2 separate regions of the Homo sapiens genome follow, and region 1 is linked to region 2. The links are contacts of gene promoters, found by promoter capture Hi-C in blood cells and fetal thymus (Javierre and others, 2016). All regions are on one chromosome and are shown on one strand. Each heading gives the region's core, a stretch centred on a gene start or on the middle of the fragment in contact. The rest is flanking DNA. Distances are from core to core; before and after follow the strand shown. Region 1 holds the start of LOC124902546 (a long non-coding RNA gene). Region 2 holds the start of UBE2D1 (ubiquitin conjugating enzyme E2 D1).

Region 1 (4,040 bases), core at 876-3,375, 2.0 Mb after region 2:
GTTTGACTGAGGGCCCCATCTATTCATTGGCTATCAGCTCAGGTCTATTTACAGGTCCTAAAGGCCACTCAGAGTTCCTTGCCATGTGATAACTACCACAGGCAACTTACAACATGGTTGTATGCTTCTTCCAGGCCAGAAGGAGAATCCCTCTTTTTTTTGTGCAGTCTGCTAAGCTTCTGCTATACATGGAAATGGAGGCATGAGAGTGGCATGCTATCCCCTCTGCCTAACAAGCAACCTAATCAATAGAATGACATCCCATCACCTTTATTGTATTCTATTGGTCACAATTTCTATCTGCACTAGAAAGAAAGAAATCACACAAGGAAATGACTCACTGGTAGCCCTTCTAAAGTGTGTTGGCACTATTGCTTCAGAGAGTCTAGAACACAGTTTTAACTCATCAGTTCACCTTCAACTGATAACAAAACTTCAGAGAAACTATACAAGCATATAAATTTACTTTTATTTCTTCTCTCCCACACTTTGTGCTACATTTTACTTTTACATATGTTATAAAACCCACATCACAATTTTTTTTCCTTTAAAGATAGGGTCTCACTTTGTTACCCAGGCTGAAGTGCAATGGCATGACCAACTCATCACAGCTTTGAACTGGGCTCAAGTGATCTTCCCACCTCAGACTCCTAAGTAGCCAGGACCACATTTCACTCCTTTGTATACATTCAGATTTGAAGCTAATGCCATTTTCATTCTGCCTGAAGAACTTCTTGTTTCATGTGGGATCTTATGCTGAAAATTTCCTTCCATTTTTGTGTGTTTAAGAATGTCTTTAGTTAGCCTTCTTTTTTATTTTTATTTATTTTTTGAGACAGTCTTGCTCTGTCACCCAGGCTGGAGTGCAGTGGCACGATCTTGGCTCACTGCAACCTCCACCTCCCAGGCTCATGCCATTCTCCCGCCTCAGCCTCCCGAGTAGCTGGGACTACAGGTGCCCGCCACCACGCCTGGCTAATTTTTGTATTTCTAGTGGAGACGGGGGATTTCACTGTGTTAGCCAGGATGGTCTTGATCTCCTGACCTCGTGATCTGCCCACCTCGGCCTTCCAAAGTGCTGGGATTATAGGTGTGAGCCACTGCATCCAGCCTAGTTAGTCTTCATTTTTGAAAGCTGTTTGCTGGAAACAGAAATCAAGGTTGACTTTTTTTTATTCTTACAGTACTTGAAAGATGTTACTCTACTGTCTTGCTTGCATTGTTCCAAGAAGAAATTTCCCGTAATCCTTATCTTTGTTTCTATGTAACATGTGCCCCAACACCCCTTATTACTTTAGAATTTTTTATCAATGGTTTTGAGTTATGCAATTATGGTATAACTTGATGTCATTTTCTTAATATTTCTTGTGTTTGAGATTTGTGAAGCTTCTTGAATATATGAATTTATATTTTTCATCACATTTCAAATTTTTTGGTCTTTATTACTTGTTTTCTTGTCCTCTCCCCTTGCCTCTCTGAGACTCCACTTTCAAGTATATTATTAGGCTGTTAGAAGTTGTCTCACAGCTCACCATTGATTTGTTCATGTTACTTTATTTTCATTTTTTAATGTTGTGATTGATTTTGGGTAGTTTCTCTAGAGCTGTGTTTCACTTTCATTCTGCAATGTGTAACATACTATATTAATACCATCTAATTCCATCTATCACATTGTAGTGTTCACCTCTACAAGTTTGATTTAGGTCTTTATTACAAGCTTTGTGTCTTTGATTAACTTTTTTAACAGCTTTTATGACAGCAGTAAAGTGTAAATTTAGCGGTTTTCTGTATAGAATTGTACAACCTTCACCATAACCGAAGTGTAGAACATTTTATTTATCCCTTTAAAAGAAACACTATATCCATTTGCAGTCCCTCCCCATACTCTCTCAACCTCTCATTCCCACCAATCCCCAGCCCTGGACAAGCACTATATAAATTTACTTTCTGTTGCTATAGATTTGTCAAATCTAGACATTTCACATAAATGAAATAATATATTATGTGGTCTTTTGTAATTAGCTTCTTTCACTTAGTATATTTTCAAGGTTCATATTTTAGCATGTAGTAACCATTATTTAGCATGTAATAAAGTTCTCTTTACTACTGATTAATACTTCATTGAATGAAAGTATGCATTTTCACTCACCAGCTAATGGGCCTTTGGGTTGTTTTTACCTTTCAGCTTTTGTGAATAATGCTGCTATAGAGGTTTGTGTACTTTTGTGTCCCCATGTTTTTATTTGTCTTGGATATATAACTAGGAATGAAATTGTGACTCATATGGTAACCCTACGTTCAAAGCCTATGCACCAGTTTACATTTCCATCAACATGAGAATTCCACTTTCTTTACATCCTTAGCACCACTTACCTTTTTCATTATAGTTCTGATATCTTTTTGAAGATATGGGATATAGTTACAATAACTGTTTTAATGTCCTTGCCTGTTGATTCTAACATTACTTCAGTTCTGATCAGCAATTGATTTTTCTCCTCATTATGTGTTTTTTTTTTTCTTTTTGCAAGCTTGGTAATTTTTCTTTGTATGACATATGTAAATTGCACCTTTGGTGAACATTTTTCTATTTCTATAAATACTGCTGAAGTTTGGTCTTGTCATCTGTCATGGTTTGTTAAGTTTGATCCATTTGGGTCTTACTTTTAAGAGTTAGATGGCACTACAGCACTGATCAGCTAGGACTAATTACTGCCTACTAAATAATTAGTAAACAACTATCAAATCAAGACTTTTTTGTGTGTACTCTGTCCAGTGTCCTACGGACTATGAAGTTTTCCAGCCTGGTTAGTGGAAATAGAGACTATTTCTGACCCTCTGTAATGTCCATATATATATATTTATATATATATATATATGTATTTTTTTTTTTTTGTGAGACGGAGTCTCGCACTGTCACCAGGGCTGTAGTGCTGTGGCGCAATTTCGGCTAACTGCAACCTCAGCCTCCCTGGTTCAAGCAATTCTCCTGCCTCAGCCTCCCGAATAGCTGGGATTACAAGCGCCCACCACCACGCCCAACTAATTTTTTTTGTACTTTTAGTAGAGACGGGGGTTTCACCATGTTGGCCAGGCTGGTCTCAAACTCCTGACCTCGTAATTCACCTGCCTCAGACTCACAAAGTGCTGGGATTACAGACGTGAGCCACCGCGACCGGCCATGTCCTGGTATCTTTAAAAATCTTTTAGCTAGTTTCTTGAGACACATACTGCTCAGTACTCAGCTGAATGAATACCAAGTTCTCTCTCAGCAGTTATCTTTCTCCTGTACTCTGCAAAGAACATTACCTACCTTGGTCTCCCCAGAATATCTGTTCTATTTTGCCAACGCAGGCAATCGGCTGGGCTCTGCTTGAGTTCACTCTCCTGCATCGCATCTATAAAATACTAATATCTTTGAAAGCAGCTCGCTTTTTGAGCGCAGATCATTTGCTTCCTGTATCTCCCGGATCACTATTCTTTACTGATTCCCAGCGTCTTAGAAACAGCCCCACTGTTTTTCGGGGTTTTGTTTTTTTTTTTCTACAGCAGTAGTGAATATTTTAAATAAAGTGTCAATGCTGTAAGTTTCCCTTAAAACGCAAACTCAAGGAAATGCTTTCCCTTTTTCGAGTAGAGAAAGAACTTCCACAGGCGCGCGGTCGAGCTCAAGCCCACTTATAGTCTCTGGCACCGCGTAAGGACTAGCGCGCAGGCGCAGAGCCCGTGCGCGCCTAGCCATAACCGCGCTTGCGCCAAGCAGCGAGGCCCGCCAACGAGCGAATCCGCGCCTGCCAATTAGAGCGCACAATGGTCCTTGATGCCCGCCCACTAACCTCTGCAGCCAATCGCCTGCCCCGGCGCGAAGTCGACTGTGACTTCAAAGTAATCTTAGGGATTGTGGGAAGGCAGCTGAACTCGGCGCCTGGAAAGATGGAGGCAGCGGAGACAGAGGCGGAAGCTGCAGCCCTAGAGTAAGTGTTTGCGGCTAAGTGGCAGCTGGGGCCGGGCCTGGGAGGACCTTGTGGGCCCCTATGTGTAAT
Region 2 (4,166 bases), core at 1,413-3,912:
TGCCTTAGAAGCTGTTCCCCTGCTTGTACCCTCTACTACACTACAGCAGACTTATCTGAGGTTCCACACAACTCTATGGCCTGCCACCATCTATAGGTACAGGAAAATTATATTAATACTTCAGTGAGCTTAAGAAGAAAGGCCAAAAGTTAGTATACATCTTCATTTGTTGGAACATGAAAGATTCAAATAAGAATTCTATACTGATGACATCAAAGAAGATGGTGTAACTGTTCATACGGCAGGCGGCACATCTAACCTAGAATTGGCTTCTAATCAAGGAGGTAGGTAAAGGAGGAGGAAAAGTAGGGAATCAATCAAAATAATCACCCCTAAGGTTTGAGGGATTGGTCTGAATGTGTGATTAATGGAAAGAAGATTTGTGTAAGTCGATTTTCCTGATATCAGAAAGGGAAGCCAAAAATGAACACACAGAGATGTGATGGTGTGTCATCCCCAATTTCTTTTCCAAAATATCAATTTGTCACATGTTTGATATCAATTCTATGTAAGTAATTTTTTTTTTTACTCAACAATTCTATAAACTAATAACCAATAAATACTAAAAAGATTTGGACACACGCCATATTATAAATATAAATCAAATACACTAGTTCAGCATGGTGATTGATGAGAACTGCCAAGGGTGGTATTTACAAATAATGTTCATATTTCTTTGAATATCCACTTACTGTGGACAAATTATACAGCTTAAGCTATTGTTAGTTGGGTATGGTGACTTGTGTCTGTAATCCCAGACTTTCTGGAGGCCAGGAGTTCAAGATCAGCATGGGCAATATAGTGAGATCCCCATCTCTTAAAAAAACACAATGAAATTTAAAAAGCTCTTGTATGTGCAAAATCATGTGAAAAATTCTCACAACTAGGAAAGAAGGAAATAGAATTTGAAAACTTCCTTGGAAGATGTGCATTTTCTGATCCAAATGTGAACCAATATTACTTCGTCATTAATAAGTATGCAAGGTATGGTAAAGATGCTAAGGCTTCAAAATTAGGGTATTTATATAAAACAATGTGTAATTGCGCTACCTTCAAACAAGAAAACATTATTACTTAATAAATGCTGATGCTGATTGTTAACTGTATGTTTTACAATGAGATGACCTTTAAATGGCACAAAAAATAACAGGTGATCCACAGATTTAGAATTTGAAAATAAAAAACTGGCAGGCTCTAAAAGTTGCTGTCCTCTGTACCTAAAGATGTCACCAGTGGCGAGTCAGAATGCAATGCGTACGTCACTATCACTGCTCTAACATATACTATTGCTATAATGGACTCCTGGTCAAAAAAGTGGATAAAAATGTGGGCATCAATTTCTTCTGAAACAACTACAAAATACACTGTCCATTGTTGCTTAACTTAGTGAAAAGCACTCCCTATTTAACAAACACATTCTCAATGTTGCCAGTGTGAACTGTAACTGTAAAACCTAAAACTTGGGTCAGTACACAGACCAACAAGAAATAAAAATGAACAGAAAGAAATGCCCGAATCTGAATTCTGAAGGATGTTCGCATCTGAAATGGTGGCAATAAATACTGTGAAAAAAAGACGATTCCATACACAGGGTTGAGATGGGTAAACAGTTGTTGGATGAAGATATATATTTCTTCCTCATTCTATACCCATGTGTCAAAGCATCAAAACAATTTATTTGCGACAGTTTATGTTGTGTCTCGAACTTTACATCTAAGTTTATCATGAGGGGGAAAAAAACCTGTTTGGCTTGACTCACCGTGAATCACAGCCAGGAGGTCATCTTGTTGTGTATCAGCAACTATGTTTTCGCTACAGCTATGTGACCTGAAGTGGCAGCAGCAGAGGCACCAAAATAGAAGGGGCAGGAGCCTTCTCCTGACTTCTTGGCCGCAAATGGGCTTTCCAGCCCATTCGGGCAACTGAGCAAGAGCCAACCGCAGAGGAGAGAAAGAACCAACCCGACAGCTCCGCGGAGAAAGGCTGCAGGCCCACCCCACCTTCCTTGCCCTCCCGGGGAGGCCGGGTAAGCAAGAACATAAAAGAGGACAGGCTTAAGAAACAGCCTGGAGAAAACACAGCATGACAGGGGTCAAAACTAGCCCCATGGAGGGCAAAACCCGGCCGTGACCGTGAAGCACAGATTTCGGGACGGTCTGGACGCGCAAGAGGCTCTCTACCCTGGGGCTCCGGGAGCGGCTCCGGCGCGAACGCGCGCGGGCCCCCAGCCTTCAAGCTCCTCCGGCCGCCTGGGACCTGACCCTGCTCCCACCTCACCTGTCCGATGCCCGCTGGCCCGGCCCGAGCCTTCAGCTCCCTGCCCGCACCCCGGCCCACCCTTCCATCCCTTGCTCTCCCCGCATGTCTCTCGGGACCACTGGCCGAGTCAGCGTGGGCAGGGGGCCGCTGCCCCGCAGCCCCAGGCCCGGCCCCGGCACTCACTTTCTGAATCCTCTTCAGCGCCATGGGTCAGGGATGGCGGTGGGGACACCGGCCGGCAGGGGTCGGCTGCGGGGCTCAGGGGCGTGGGTCGTCGCGGGTTGGGCTCGCTGGCAGCTAGGCTGGCTCCGCGCGGTGGGTCCCCGGTTAGCCGCTCCCTGGCTCGCTCCGGGCGCCGGTCCCTGCTCCGTGTGCGCCCGAGCGCGAGTGTGCGCGAGTGTGCGGGCGGGGACGCCGGCGAGACTCTTTTGTTTCCGCTTTTGCTTCTGGGAAGGAGCCTGCGCCCTCCCCGCCGCGCCCCGCCCCGCCTGGCACACTGGGAAGTGTAGTTCCAGCCCTGTCCTCGGCTGCAGGCCCCCGGACGCTGCCAGGTAACTTACTGCTGACCTCAGCCAGGCAGCTTAAGGTGAGAGCTGCCGGGGGCTGGAATTAGCCTCTACAGTCTCATTTAGAGCAAATTGCTGAACCTGGGGCTGCGCATCTGTAAAATGGGGATAACAAATGAGCTCCTAACGCACATAAAGGAATTTCTAAATCATCAGTTAGTAATTCCTTATCCAATAGGTGCCACAGCTGGTTTTATTATTTTTACCTTTAAAGATTTCACTGTCTTTTCTCAAATATATGGATTGTCTCACTCACCCTGCACACATGCACAAACTCATATCAGACCCCCTACTTACCTCCTTGGTTCTTATTGCAGAGGAAAAAGGTGTCTCTTCTGTCCAATGTGCAAATCTTCCTTGTCTGAGTGCATTGTCTGCTCGTAGGTATGCCCCTCCCATAAATTACCCACTTCGAACACCGAGTTCTGGGCTCTCACTCCCATCATTGGTTCCTTCCCTTCCGTTGACAGTCCCTGACCAATAGTCAACTCACGCTCCCCACTCTCCAATTCCTATGCACTTGTGTACCCATTAAAACTTGGCTTCTTGGCCAAGATGAGATTTGGGTGGGGACACAGCCAAACCATATCACTCAGGGATATAAAGATGGCAACAAATAGACACTGTGGACTACTAGAGAGGGGACCGAGGGAGCAAAGGTTGAAAAACTGTTGGGTACTATTGTCAGTACCTGGGTGATAAAATCATTCATACCACAAATGTCAGCATCACACAGCATACCCAGGTAGCAAACTTGCATATGTGGCCTCTAAATCTAAAATAAAAGTTGAAAAACAAAAACAAACAAACAAAAACAGAATCTTGAGCCCCACTCCAGACATGCTACATCACACTTTGCAGTTTAATAAGACTCCTAGGTGATTCAGATGAACATTAGGGTTTGAGAAGCACTATGCTGGAAGGCATAAGAGGAGATCCTAAAAATGCAGATTTCCTTTAAAGGATTTAATTTAGCAGTAAGTTTTGGGTGAAGCTCTGGAGTCTAAACTTTAGAACAAACTTCCCAGGAAGTTAGGATGCAGGTATCTGAGGACACTTTTGAGAATCTCCACCTTGAGCAAATCTTCAAATCCTTCTAAGCCTCAATTTCCTCACCCATAACTAATGCAATAAATGTTGTATTTGTTTAAAGGGAATAGAGCTGAAACTTTTGGTGCCCTTCTAACTCAAAGGTCTATGATTTGCACAAAAAATGGTGATTTTTTTCTCTTCTTTATAAATAGAAAGAAACCTAAAAAGTAAGCTTACAAGATTATTTTTGTCTTTCCTAGGGCAGTTTACCTCCCAACAAAAGAGAAATTAACACTTATTAAAAAAATC

What was found. The method cuts DNA at HindIII sites, captures the fragments that hold promoters and counts their contacts. A CHiCAGO score of 5 or more calls a contact.
Region 1: a contact is called between a fragment that was not itself captured here and the fragment with the promoter of UBE2D1 in region 2, in 1 of 17 cell types (non-activated CD4 T cells). The highest score is 9.8, in non-activated CD4 T cells.

Annotation. Positions count from the first base shown.
Region 1 is chr10:56,361,127-56,365,166 of GRCh38, reverse strand. It overlaps LOC124902546 (a long non-coding RNA gene), which reads right to left and starts at 3,708. Exons shown (of 2, transcript XR_007062372.1): 1 at 3,311-3,708; 2 at 448-1,142. It overlaps ZWINT (ZW10 interacting kinetochore protein), which reads left to right and starts at 3,908. Exons shown (of 9, transcript NM_007057.4): 1 at 3,908-3,971. The coding sequence starts at 3,931. RefSeq lists a silencer at 3,641-3,850 and enhancers at 3,941-4,040, 3,459-4,040. The HindIII fragment of the contact is 811 bases long and covers 1,720-2,530 here.
Region 2 is chr10:58,333,502-58,337,667 of GRCh38, reverse strand. UBE2D1 (ubiquitin conjugating enzyme E2 D1) reads right to left here and starts at 2,662. Exons shown (of 7, transcript NM_003338.5): 1 at 2,443-2,662. The coding sequence starts at 2,466. RefSeq lists a silencer at 2,278-2,797 and enhancers at 2,605-2,899, 2,498-2,998. The HindIII fragment of the contact is 6,404 bases long and covers 1-4,091 here.